Linked DNA regions of Homo sapiens: region 1 is linked to region 2. The links are contacts of gene promoters, found by promoter capture Hi-C in human tissues and cell types (Jung and others, 2019). All regions are on one chromosome and are shown on one strand. The core of a region is centred on a gene start or on the middle of the fragment in contact, and the rest is flanking DNA. Distances in the headings are between cores, read along the strand shown. Region 1 holds the start of DPM3 (dolichyl-phosphate mannosyltransferase subunit 3, regulatory). Region 2 holds the start of JTB (jumping translocation breakpoint).

The links. Contacts are between HindIII fragments. The study calls those that stand out against the background at their distance.
Region 1: a contact is called between the fragment with the promoter of DPM3 here and the fragment with the promoter of JTB in region 2, in 1 of the 25 tissues and cell types used here (aorta).

The regions. Positions count from the first base shown.
Region 1 is chr1:155,136,558-155,143,284 of GRCh38, forward strand. DPM3 (dolichyl-phosphate mannosyltransferase subunit 3, regulatory) reads right to left here and starts at 3,974. Exons shown (of 2, transcript NM_153741.2): 1 at 3,934-3,974; 2 at 3,334-3,688. The coding sequence starts at 3,683. The coding sequence ends at 3,405. SLC50A1 (solute carrier family 50 member 1) reads left to right here. Exons shown (of 6, transcript NM_018845.4): 3 at 271-394; 4 at 1,004-1,165; 5 at 1,422-1,541; 6 at 1,623-2,296. The coding sequence ends at 1,724. RefSeq lists enhancers at 3,914-4,043, 4,214-4,273. The HindIII fragment of the contact is 27,453 bases long and covers 1,624-6,727 here.
Region 2 is chr1:153,975,870-153,982,834 of GRCh38, forward strand. It overlaps JTB (jumping translocation breakpoint), which reads right to left and starts at 1,805. Exons shown (of 5, transcript NM_006694.4): 1 at 1,301-1,805; 2 at 1,107-1,144; 3 at 824-906; 4 at 1-36. The coding sequence starts at 1,383. It overlaps JTB-DT (JTB divergent transcript), which reads left to right and starts at 1,874. Exons shown (of 1, transcript NR_186180.1): 1 at 1,874-3,291. It overlaps RAB13 (RAB13, member RAS oncogene family), which reads right to left. Exons shown (of 8, transcript NM_002870.5): 5 at 6,850-6,939; 6 at 6,666-6,731; 7 at 6,522-6,575; 8 at 5,781-6,307. The coding sequence ends at 6,230. RefSeq lists enhancers at 1-626, 1,276-1,924, 1,926-1,975 and silencers at 1,646-1,695, 1,984-2,278. The HindIII fragment of the contact is 6,167 bases long and covers 1-3,732 here.

The DNA of each region.
Region 1 (6,727 bases), core at 2,724-5,223, 1.2 Mb after region 2:
ACGGTGAAACCCCGTCTCTACTAAAAATACAAAAAATTAGCCGGGCGTGGTGCCGGGCGCCTGTAGTCCCAGCTACTCGGGAGGCTGAGGCAGGAGAATGGCGTGAACCCAGGAGGCGGAGCTTGCAGTGAGCCGAGATCGTGCCACCGCACTCCAGCCTGGGCGACAGAGCGAGACTACGTCTCAAAAAAAAAAAAAGAGTGAAAGACCCTTTGGGTCCTCCTCTCACACTGAACCCTTTGAGCCATGTCCATCCCCTCCACCCTGCAGCAACCTGGGCTGGCTGAGTTATGGGGCTTTGAAGGGAGACGGGATCCTCATCGTCGTCAACACAGTGGGTGCTGCGCTTCAGACCCTGTATATCTTGGCATATCTGCATTACTGCCCTCGGAAGGTAGAGGCCCTCCCTTGGACCCACCTATCTGCTGCACGCCCTGCCTTGCTGGCAGGGCAAACACTATTTCCTAGAAGACTGTAACAGCTGGCACTGCCACCTTTTCCAGGAAGGCCTCTCCAGCCTTGCAGGTCCCCTTCCTCTATGAAGCCAGCCTTCTGAGATGAACACATTGCCCCCATTTAGGCAAGGCTGGTAGCTCTGCCTAGCCTGAGATGCCTATGCTGCCTGCCCTGGGCTTCAGCCAACAAGCTAAGGGGAAAGGGCTTTTGTCTCTGATATTTCTTTCAGAGCCAGGGCCTGTGGGTGAGAATGAGATGATTAGCTCTGCGTCCCTGCTAAATCACACAAGCATTTATGAAGCTCCTACTGTGTGTGCCAAGCACACAGAAAAAAACACATATTTATCTCCCCCAGAAGTCTCCAGTGTTGTGGGTGGATAAGACTTTCCTATCAAGTTGGTGGTGGGAAAGAAGCTGTGACAGTGCAGTGCTGGAGGCCTAGACAGCTTGGCTTCCCCATTGGAGCACTGGAGAAGGCAGGATGAATTAACTCTAGCAGGGAAGTCAGAGTGCACATCTGGAAGTAAGGGTACTCTCTCCCCTGCAGCGTGTTGTGCTCCTACAGACTGCAACCCTGCTAGGGGTCCTTCTCCTGGGTTATGGCTACTTTTGGCTCCTGGTACCCAACCCTGAGGCCCGGCTTCAGCAGTTGGGCCTCTTCTGCAGTGTCTTCACCATCAGCATGTACCTCTCACCACTGGCTGACTTGGTGAGTGGGGGTGTCCAAGGAGGTAGGAGAGATAAGAGTCAGGCTCTCATAGCCAAATACTATGGCTTACAGTCCCGAGGAAGGGGAGATCCAAACCCTGGAAGAAGACAAGGCAGTAGAAGTGGGCGAGTGGGAGGCAGGAAAGGTTGGGTGACAGATCAGGGAGGGTGTCTGACCTTTTTCTTGAGGAAATTCTTAGGCAAGTGAAGCTTTACGATGTGCTTGGGCCAAGAGAGTCTTCCATTCTTTCCCACAGGCTAAGGTGATTCAAACTAAATCAACCCAATGTCTCTCCTACCCACTCACCATTGCTACCCTTCTCACCTCTGCCTCCTGGTGCCTCTATGGGTTTCGACTCAGAGATCCCTATATCATGGTAAGCACAACTGGGATGGGGTGACAGGGGTGCAAGATGGAAAACTGGCTCCTCTCCTCATAGCAGTTCTTGTGATTTCAGGTGTCCAACTTTCCAGGAATCGTCACCAGCTTTATCCGCTTCTGGCTTTTCTGGAAGTACCCCCAGGAGCAAGACAGGAACTACTGGCTCCTGCAAACCTGAGGCTGCTCATCTGACCACTGGGCACCTTAGTGCCAACCTGAACCAAAGAGACCTCCTTGTTTCAGCTGGGCCTGCTGTCCAGCTTCCCAGGTGCAGTGGGTTGTGGGAACAAGAGATGACTTTGAGGATAAAAGGACCAAAGAAAAAGCTTTACTTAGATGATTGATTGGGGCCTAGGAGATGAAATCACTTTTTATTTTTTAGAGATTTTTTTTTTTAATTTTGGAGGTTGGGGTGCAATCTTTAGAATATGCCTTAAAAGGCCGGGCGCGGTGGCTCACGCCTGTAATCCCAGCACTTTGGGAGGCCAAGGTGGGCGGATCGCCTGAGGTCAGGAGTTCAAGACCAACCTGACTAACATGGTGAAACCCCATCTCTACTAAAAATACAAAATTAGCCAGGCATGATGGCACATGCCTGTAATCCCAGATACTTGGGAGGCTGAGGCAGGAGAATTGCTTGAACCCAGGAGGTGGAGGTTGCAGTGAGCTGAGATCGTGCCATTGTGATATGAATATGCCTTATATGCTGATATGAATATGCCTTAAAATAAAGTGTTCCCCACCCCTGCCCACGATGGTTCATTCTCTACTCATAATTCTAAACCTGCCTGGTTTGGTGAAGGATAGATCCACAGTTATTCTCAGGTTGGTAGGGTAGGCTCAGAAAAGGTATCTCAAAGAACCAAAAGGTTGGAAAGACCCAGGAAGGCCTTAAAAATAACAAAACTTGGATGTTATGAAGAATGGAACTTAGGCTTCAAGAAAGTACTTCTGGCCGGGTAAGGTGGCTTATGTCTGTAATCACAGCACTTTGGGAGGCCCAGGCAGGAGGATCACTTGAGCCCAGGAGTTTGAGAACAGCCTGAGCAACACAGCGAGACCCTGTCACTACAAAAAATTAAACATTAGCCTGGTGGCGTGGTGGCATATGCCTGTAGTCCCAGCTACTCTGGAGGCTGAGGTGGGAGAACTGTTTGAGCCTGGGAGGGTGAGGCTGCAGTGAGCCATGATTGCACCACTGCACTCCAGCCTGGGCAACAGAGTGAGACCCTGTCTCAAAAAAAAAAAAAAAAAGAAGTAGTACGCCGGGCGCGGTGACTCACACCTGTAATCCCAGCACTTTGGGAGGCCGAGGCGGGCGGATTACGAGGTCAGGAGATCAGACCATCCTGGCCAACACGGTGAAACCCCGACTCTACTAAAAATACAAAAAATTAGCCAGGCGTGGTGGCAGGCGCCTGTAGTCCCAGCTACTCAGGAGGCTGAGGCAGGAGAATGGCGTGAACCCGGGAGGCGGAGCTTGCAGTGAGCCGAGATCACGCCACTGCACTCCAGCCTGGACGACAGAGCAAGGCTCCGTCTCAAAAAAAAAAAAAAAGAAGTACTTCCTACAGGGTTGAAAGGACCAGGAAAGTGAAATGTCATTTCCATCCTGAGAAATATTGAGAAGGGGTCTTTGCCTCCTTGGGAGCAAAAATGGGAACACCAGCAAGATGCAAAGATAAAGGCTGAGATGGCCTCAAGAAGGTGGTTCTTTCACATTCACTTCTCGACCGTTAGTACATAGAATCCCCAATACCCGTTTTCCATACTCAAACTAAACGAAGTTAGAAAATAAACTGGCTCTTTAATGGGAAATGGGAGGAAGGGCTGTCCGCACAGGAATGGGGTTAGGCTGTCAGAAGCGCAGCCCCCTGCGGGCTAAGTCGGCTCGGGCCTCCTGTATCTGGCTCTGCAGCTCGCGTGCGGCGTCCTCGCAGTCATGAAAAGTGGCCACACGATAGCCCACAGTGCCCAGGGCATAGCAGCCGGCGGACACCAGCAAGTAGGCGGGCAGTGGCCACAGGACTTCCTGGCAGGACAAGGGCAGCTCCAGGCCCAAGGCTCCCGTGGTCAGGGCCACCCAGGTGGAGCCCAGGATCGCTAGTCCCCAAAGCCACTGCGCTAATTTCGTCATGGTCACTGCGAGAGAAGGAAGCAATGCTCCCCTGAGGAGCAGAAAGGAAAAGCGGACCAAACTCAACCGAAGCCCGCCCACGGAGAGCATTAAAACCAGCCCTGGCCAGAGGGGAATCGCCGATCCCAGAGGTCCGAACTTGAGTGCCCACAAAAGGTGGAAGGGCCCCTTCCACCTTGCTACCCCCTCTATATTTGAGACCCACTCCCCATCTCTCGCCCTCCCCATTCAGCCTTCAACCTACACTTACCTCTACCCCACGTCTCCCCTTCCCCGCGCGGCCCGGATGTTGGCGTCCGGAAGTCCTCCCTGGTTCACGTTCCGCTTCCGCGCGGCCTTCTGGGAGTTGTAGTTCACATGGCGGCGCCTGGTGTACTCCTGGCCAGCGCCTCAATCTAGGCGGGGGTACAGTGGGCTGTGCTCCGCAAACGGGGAGCAGGCCGGGTCTGGAGAGGCCTCGGCGCTGCTTTCCCACCTTGGGCTACGCTCCAGGCTGGCGTGGGGCTTGAGGACATCCTTAAATGTTGCAACAAGATGGGAATATAATACCATTCCCCTTAAACTCAATTCTCCAGCGCTGAAATCCATTCCTTCATTCACTAGTTCATTCATTCGAAGATTTCTTTCTTTCCATTCTTGACAGGGTCTCTCTATAGTGCCTAGGCGGGACAGAACTCCTTTTTTTTTTTTTTTTTTTTTTTTTTTTTTTTGAGACAAAGTCTCGCTCTGTTGCCCATGCTGGAGTACAGTGGCTCGATCTCAGCTCACTGCAACCTCTGTCTCCCGAGCAGCTGGGATTACAGGCGCGCGCCACCACGCCGGGCTAATTTTTTTATTTTTAGCAGAGAACGGGGATTTCACTATGTTGGCCAGGCTGGTCTCAAACTCCTGACCTCAAGTGACTGGCCCACCTCAGCCTTCCAAAGTGCTAGGATTACAGGCATGAGCCACAGCGCCCGGCCAGAACATTTCTTGATTACCATGATAGACTTTGGAGATACAGAGATGTCAAGAGACTCGACCCCTTTCAGGTGGAGGGGGAAAGCAGGAGTCAGTGAAGCAGTTGCATTGACAACTAACCATGAAGGCTTGAGATTATTGTTAGAACAGAGGTAGTCATATTTTTACAAGGACAACAACCAATATAACTTGGAGCCAGAGGAAGAAGGGCTCCAGGAGTCTGGGTTTCAAAAAAAAAGAAAAGAAAAGAAAGACCAGAAGAATTACCTGAAGTGGTGAAGGCATTGAAAGAAAGAGTATAATTCTTTAGAACAGTTTTGGGGATGAATTTATTATGTATAGAGAGAAAGAGAGAGAGAGAACAAAGTAAGAGAAAAGGTTAGGCAATTATCAACTTCAGAGGAAACAAAGAGTTATATAAGAAAGGAAAGACAATTGATAAGCCTGTCTTATAAAGACCACATCTGTAGTTTGACAGTTAGGTTTATTAACTTGCCACAACAGAGAGATCACACACTAGAAGAACTGTGGGGCAACTCATTAAAAAGGAAGAAATATGGTCATTCAGATGATATGGTTTGGCTGTGTCCCCACCCAAATTTCAAGTTGATGTGTATCTCCCAGAATTCCCACGTGCGAGGGACCTAAGGGGAGGTAATTGAATCACGGGGGCCAGACTTTCCCGTGCTATTTTCATGATAGTGAATAAGTCTCACAAGATCTGATGAGTTCATCAGGGGTTTCTGCTTTTGCTTCTTCCTCATTTTTCTCTTGCCACCGCCATGTAAGAAGTGCCTTTGTCTCCCGCCATGATTCTGAGGCCTCCCCAGCAATGTGGAACTGTAAGTCCAATTAAACCTCTTTTTGTTTGCAGTTTCGGGTATGTCTTTATCAGTAATGTGAAAATGAACTAATACAACAGGATATGGGAAAGGCTTGACTTTAAAATTTATATTTTAAAATTTATTTACTTATTTATTTAGAGTTGAAGTCTCGGTATGTTGCCCAGGCGAAGCTCAAACTTCTGGGCTCAAGTGATCCTCCTGCCTCAGCCTCCCAAGTGGCTGATACTATAGGCTAGCTAAAATTTAAATGAAACAGTGTTTTGATCGGTTCGAGGTAAGCATAACTTTAAGTGAAGGGATCAAGAAGTCCAAGCTGAGGGACCACTTGGAAATTACAAAGTCAAGATAAATATAGAATATAGTGTCCAAAAACCCACTATCTAGGCTGGGCACAGTGGCTCGTGCCTGTAATCCCAACACTTTGGGAGGCCAAAGTAATCCACGTGGCTCAGAACTTCTGGCAAGAGTAGGATGTTCCATTCGCACTGACTGATTTCAAATAGCAAAGTTTGTGACTATGATTTTAGAAAATGAAGTTTCTCAGCCGTATGTCCTGGATGTTAATTAACAAAAGCAGTTTTTACAGATTCACAGTCTTAGCACAAACACAAATGGCTCAGCTGTGAAGAAAATTTTCACAGCCGTAACGATGTAAACACTAAGTATTGATTTAACTAAAAATTGGAGCTGGGGACAGTGGAGCTGTGATCCCAGAACTTTGGGAGGCCTAGGTGGGAGTGTTGCTTGAAGAAATGTACAGATAAGTACCAGAAGAAGCAGCCTAGAAACTGGAGCGTAGTTGTATATGTAGGTTGTATATGTAAGGGTTAAAGAAGAGGAGCAGGGGATGGTTATTTTTCATTAAAAGCCTTGTAGAGTTACAGCTCTTTTTTTTTCTATTCTTTTTCTTTTTTTCAGACAAGGTCTTGCTCTGTTGCCCAGGGTGGAGAGCAGCGGTGCAAACATGGCTTACTGCAGCCTCGACCTCCTGGACTCAAGCTATCCTCCCACCTCAGACTCTGGAGTAGCAGGGACTACAGAAGTGGGCCACCACCACCACGCCCATCTAGTGTGTGTGTGTGTGTGTGTGTGTGTGTGTGTGTGTGTGTGTGTGTAGACGGGGTCTCCCTATGTTGCCCAGGCTGGTCTCAAAATCCTGGGCTCAAGCAATTCATCTCAGCCCCCACAAAGTGCTGCTATTGCAGTCGTAAGCCACGGCGCCCACCGAAGTTACAGCTT
Region 2 (6,965 bases), core at 555-3,054:
TACATATCCTGTGGGACCACACTCAGGGGTAGTTTTCTGCCAGGAGAAAAGGAGCAAAGTACATGTTAGGAAGGGGCAACAGGATAAACAAAAAGGCTGCCATTCAGAAGGTGCAGGTGCCCAACTGCTATGGTTTGGAGTGGTAGGCAACAGAGAGCTAATGAAAGAGTTCTGATGCGGATGGTGGAGGTGGTGGTTGCATGATTACGAATGTATGTTAGAACACTTCAGGGGCAACAGTCTAGGAGTGGCAAAGATACATTCCATTCCAGAGCCTACTATACTAAAAGTGAATAAAACATAGTTATTTGAGGCCGGGTGTGGCGGCTCACGCCTATAATCCCAGCACTTTGGGAGGCCGAGGCGGGCAGATCACGAGGTAAGGAGTTAGAGACTAGCCTGGCCAACACAGTGAAACCCGAGTCTACTAAAAATACAAAAATTAGCCAGGCATGGTGCAACGCGCCTTTAGTCACAGCTACTCAGGAGGCTGAGGCAGGAGAATCGCTTGAACCCGGGAGGCGGAGGTTGTGGTGAGCCGAGATCTCGCCACTGCACTCCAGCCTGGGCAACAGAGTGAGACTCCGTCTCAAAAACAAACAAAAAAACCATAGTTATCAGTTGAATACTGCCATTAGCTTGGAAAGAAAGGGGCACATTTTCAGGGGAAAGACAAGTACAGATTTGGACATACACTGAGACTGCAAGAAGAAAGAAAAAAAGATGATGCAAAGGCAGCTTAATAAGACTTGGATGTTAAGATGTTGCTTAAGTGTTTGCTTAGATGTTTAAAAAAAAAAAGGGTAGAGAAATAGATACTCACAGCCCGGAAATTAGAGCATGGAGAGCACTCTTCTGCTACCACAAACTCTTCCACCAGCCAGCATGGCAAATTTGAGGTGCTTGCTGAAAGGAAAGATAAATGCCAGCCCCAGGCCATTCAGAAAACATTTCTCCCAGGCTCTGCCCATCCAACTTCCCGGCACAGCGCTTGCCCTCATTCCATGTGGTGCCGGCCTTTTCCACCTGTGCTCTTGGTATATGGGGAAGATACTAAAACCAAAAACAAACGACGGGACGTGTCGGGTTCCCAGACAATCACCCACCTGACAGCTTCTCTTCCTGCACGGGAGCCTCTGCTTGGCTGTAGCGGAGTTGGGGGAAGGGACAAAAGTCAAAACCCAGAAAATAGGGCACCCCCTCCTGCGCTGTCCATGGATAAGATCTCCCCCAGCCCCGAGGCCGGGAACGATCCTGTCCTCCAGTGACCTCCTTTTCCCTCCCCTTACCTCCTCCTTACCAGAGCTTTAAGGTGAAAGCACAGAGCAACCAGCAGAGGTGGCGGCCCTGGGGGAGGCCAGGCCTCCCGGCACCCGCAAGCATGGAGCGCCAAGTGTCGCACCTGTCGGAACAGAGGGACCTACTCCACAGGCCTCGTGCCTCCGTCGGAGCGCAGAGGCGGCACTTACTCTGCAGCCCTCCCAGAGGTTCCAGGTCAGGGCAGGGAAGGCCGGAGTTGCCTATTGGAGCAGAGGATCTATCAGGACGTCCCCGTTGCCACAGCGAGAAAAATCGATATGTTTTTGCGGGCTAGGGAGGCGAGCGCCTTCTGCGGGGTCCGCAGGGCGCTGGAGGAAGGGCCGGCGGGGGCTCGCGGCCCTAGCGCCCGCTCACCTCCGCTCCCGCCCCCGACGCAGCCATCTAGCCCCGTGGAGGATCCTCGGGCGCGGGACCGAGCTCGGGGCCCGGTGTTCCCGGGGGCGTTCGGTCGTCGCCCGCTGGGGCTTATAGTCTTCCGCGTCGGTGGCGCCTCGCCTGCTGCTCACTGGGAATTAGCTCGGCGCCCCGTTGCATTGTGGTCTTGGTAGTCTTTGCGAGAACGGCAAATGGCGGTTGCAGAGGCTCGTCCGAATTCTCGGCTCGCTGCTCCCTGGCTGGCGCGTGTTTGTTCATTCTGGGCTAGGTGAGCAGGGACAATACGTCGCCCTCTCAGGACTTTGCTCTCTCCTTAAAACCCGAGGATTCACCGTCAAGCTTCTGGTTTCTCTGACATCCTTCCCCAGCCGCCCCTTCATCGCCACCGATGATCCAGTGGAGAAGCTGTGTTGGAGGTCAAGGGATGGAGGCGAAACTGCGCGTTCTCGTCCCTGCAGAAACCGGAATATCCGAGACACATGACGAACATGAAACTTTCTCCTTGTCTCTTGGCTCCCACTCCGCTACACAGATGAACGGTGTTACCTTCCCTCATGTTACTTTGCTAAGCCTACTCCTCAGAGCTGGTCCTTTGCATAACCTCTTCAAATGCTCTCAACTCTCCCTTGCTCCTACATAATGGAGTAATCATAAGTGCAATGAGAAAAGCATGAGATTTGAAGTTCCATAAGTATTGAGTCTAGGTTCTGGTGGTTATTAACTCCATGATCTTAGGAAAGTATCTGTCAGTGTTCTGTGTAAAACGGAAATGCTAATGTGTATTTACCAGGACTTTTTCTTGCGAGAGGCAGATGAAATGTATCTCCGTTTCATGAGTAAGTTCAGAGAATATAAGTGACTTGTCCAAGGTCAGCAAGCTAATGAGTGGGAAAGCTGAGGCTTGAGCCTAGACTGTCAACACCCAGGCCAAAGATTCATTGCCTGCTTTTCATCTTATGGAGTTAAACCTTGATACACACTCAGATCTGCAGTGACTTGACCAGCACTGTGGGTTCATGCTTTACTGTCTGATAACGAATTTTCATTTAATTTTATTTTTTTTCTTAGACAGGGTCTAGCTCTGTCACCTAAACCTGATGAGGGCTGAGCCTTCATTTCGCCGTTTTTTGTTTGTTTGTTTTTGTTTTTGAACGAGATGGACTCTGGCTATGTTGCCAGACTGGAGTGCAGTGGCAAGTCACAGGAGCCATCATAGCGCATTACAGCCTGGAACTTCTCGTCTTCAGGGATCCTCCCAAGTAGCTGGGATTTCAGGCATGTGCCACCATACCTGGCTCTAATTTTGAATTTGTTTCTTTAAATTATTATTTGTGTTTGCTGAAATTGTGTGTGTATTATTTTTGTGTATGTGTGTGAGTAGTTATATGTTACATAAAGTAGGTTGTGGGGTTTTTTCCAGTAATGTTTAGCTATAATTGAAGTTTGGGCCGAAATCTGCTAGTATTTGTTACTCCTCACCAAATCCTACCTTATCTCACAACAAACTGTAAGATCTTGTGATATTTCACTTCCAATAACCTTACCAGGCATCAGAGTGGGGTCTCTACTCTGAAATTAAATATCTGCCATAAGGTATGTTGAAGACGTTAGTCTCTTTCCCAGGAGGCACAAAGTGCAAGTCTTTTCCTCATCGCTTGAGCAAATTAAACCTACCGGACAGTTTACTACAGAACTCAAACACAGCTGGGCGCAGTGGCTCACGCCTGTAATCCCAGCAATTTGGGAGGCCGAGGTGGGCGGATCACCTGAGGTCGGGAGTTCAAGACCAGCCTGACCAACATGGAGAAACCCCGTCTCCACTAAAAATACAGAATTAGCTGGGCATGGTGCCATATGCCTGTAATCCCAGGTACTCGTGAGGCTGAGGCAGGAGAATCACTTGAACCCGGGAGGTAGAGGTTGCGGTGAGCCGAGATCACACCATTGTACTCCAGCCTGGGCAACAAGAGCAAGAATTCATCTCAAAAGAAAAAAAAAAGAACTTAAGCATAAGCCACAAATAAGGTTTATCATTACCTCATCAATGCTTGGATACTTACATTTATCAAGTTATTACATTTTGCTGTGTAAAAAATATTATGTATGGTGAAAGGGGGATATATATATATTATGTATTAAAATATGTATTATATATTATATATTAAACATAATATAATTATATATAATTATATATTAAACATAATATATTATATATTAAATATATAATTATAATATATATTTAATATATATGTATAATATATAATTATATATTATATATAATATGTTATATGTTTATAAACATATACATGTTATATATATTATATATTTCCTATATATTTAATATATAATATATATAATTATACATTGTAATATATAATATAATATAATATATATATACTTAAGGATGCTGTGCATCAAGCCTGAATTTTTTTTTTTTTTTTGAGATGGAGTTTCGCTCTGTCTCCAGGCTGGAGTGTAATGGTGCGAACTCTGCTCACAGTAACCTCTGCCTCCTAGGTTCAAGCGATTCTCCTCCCTCAGCCTCCCAAGTAGCTGGTATTACAGGCACCCACCACCATGCCCAGCTAATTTTTTTTGTATTTTTAGTAGAGATGGGGTTTCGCCATGTTGGCCAGGCTGGTCTCAAACTCCCAACCTGAAGTGATCCACCCACCTCGGCCTCCCAAAGTGCTGGGACTACAGGCATGAAACAACGTGCTCGGCCCAAGCCTGAATTTTCTTTTGCATTTCCAGTAGTTTTGCCATCTTTGTTATTCAGCAAAGAGATGTTTTTGTTTTCGTTTTTGTTTTTTTGAGACAGAGTCTGGCTGTGTCACCCAGGCTGGAGTGCAGTGGTGTGATCTCAACTCACTGCAACCTCTGCCTCCCAGGTTCAAGTGAGTCTCCTGCCTCAGCCTCCCAAGTAGCTGGGACTACAGGCGCCCTCCACCACTCCTGTCTAATTTTTTTTTTTTTTTGTATTTTTAGTAGAGACGGGGTTTCACTATGCTGGCCAGGCTGGTCTTGAACTCCTGTTGTGATCCACCACGCCCAGCCAAAGAGCTGTTTTTGTTAAAGTTTGCTTGTCCCAGGCTGGGCGCAGTGGCTCACGCCTGTAACCCCAGCACTTTGGGAGACTGAGGCAGACTGATCACTCGAGCCCAGGCGTTCAAGACCAGCCTGGCCAACATGACAAAACCCTGTCTCCACTAAAAACACAAAAGTTAGCCAGGTGTGGTGGCACGTGCCTGTAATCCCAGCTACTCGGGAGGCTGAGGCAGGAGAATCGCTTGAACCCGGGAGGCAGAGGTTGCAGTGAGCTGGGATCGTGCCACTGCACTCCAGTCTGGGCGACAGAGCCACACTCGGTCTTAAAAAAGAAAAAAAGTCCTTGTCCCTCTGCTTGTAAGTACCACCAAAGGGCTATATTAACTGACTATTGGCCAGGCATGGTGGCTCACGCCTGTAATCCCAGCTACTTGAGAGGCTGAGGCAGGAGGCAGAGGTTGCAGTGAGCTGAGATCGCACTATTGCACTCCAGCCTCGGAGACAGAGCAAGACTCTGTCCCTAAAAATAAATGAATAAATAAATAAAATAACTGACCATTGTGCCTGGCACTTAGTAGATGCTCAATATACATATATGAATAAATGAACTTCTCATTTTCCTCACTAATAAAAGCAGATATTAATGCCTATCAAATAACTAAATGGATTGCTGGCAGAATCAAAGAAGCTTGCACAAATCACTGGATAAATCACTAGGTGCAGTTATTTCCCTGAGGCTAGGACTGTTAGAGTTCTTCTCGCTGGGAATTTCCTGTGCTCAGGACAAGGCTCTGCCCACAAGGGCATCCGGACCCCATGGCGGAAAGAGGATATCCAGACCTTCAGATCACTCTACCTCCTGCTCTTTGCTATTTTCCTTACCAACAGAACAGCTAGGGAAGAGACAGCAGTAGGATTAGTCCTGGTTCCACAGAAACCGAGCCTGATTTGGGTAAATCAATCACTTTGAAGACACAATAATTGGATTTGAGTGGAGAACAATTCTGACAATAATCCAAGTTACCCAAAACAGGAACATTTGTGCAAATGGTGGCCTTTAATACCAAGAAAGACCATGACAAGTGACAGAACAGGAGCAAATTCCCTAGTGTAGTGCCGAGCTAGCCTTTTGCAGGACCCTAAAACCTGATCTAGTAACAGAATAAATCAGTGTATTTACATTTATGTTTGCCCTGAAAACCCAGGTAAGGTCTGAAGCCTGAGGCATCTCTCCTTCCTTTCCTCCTCCCTCTCTTCCTACCTCCTTGCCTTCTTTCACTTCCTCAATTCATTCCTCTCCCTTCTCCCTTCCTCTCTCTTCCTTTTTTTCCTTTCTGCTTTTCCCTTTTCTCCTTTTTCTCCTCATTCTCTTTACCATCTACCTATGTGACCCTCCAAGCCCCTCTGCTATTTCTCCCCTGCTCACTCCCTCTGCCGTTGTCTCCCTCAGGTTCAGCTTCCGGGGTGGGGAGGCAAGAAAGGGTCCTCAGCCCAGGGAGCACTTGTTGGTGTTCTTCTTGTCACAAGTTTTCAGGTCAGTACTGGGAGGCTTGTTGCCGTTTCCCTAGAGGGAGAAGGGCACAGGTGTCATGGTGTGAATGGATGGTTAGGGTAGGAGGGTATAAACTGTTTAAAGTAAATCCACCCTCATGAGAAATCTTAGCATTGCTCCCCGTTTTTATCAACACCAACACACACACACACACACACACACACACACACATACATACACACACACACACCCCAGAGTTGTACCTAGTCCAGCAAAACCAACTTACTGATCTCCGGCCTCCTGACTTGAGCAAGATGTCCCGGGCCAGGGAACTAAAAGCCTAAAGTGGGGAACAGAGTCAGTTTGGAGGGAGGAGAATCTACCTTCTAATACTTCCTCTCTTGGTCGGGGATGGGGGTGTGGATCTCACCTCATCCACATTCATACTGGATTTAGCACTAGTTTCGAAAAATCGGATTCCATGCTCTCGAGCCAACTATAAGGGGTGAAGTGGGAAGAGAATTGAATTAAGGACAGCAGCCAAGTCCTCTGCAATGCAACCTATCTTGGCCCTCCCAGCCCAGTTCTAGAACATTGCTCAGCCTGGCCCTCACCTTATCGGCCTGCTCCTTCTGCACCTTCCTCTTGGCCTCCATGTCACATTTGTTCCCCAGCAAGAGGCGCTCCACCCCAGCCGAGGCATTCTGGGGGCAAAAGACAAGTAAAAGTT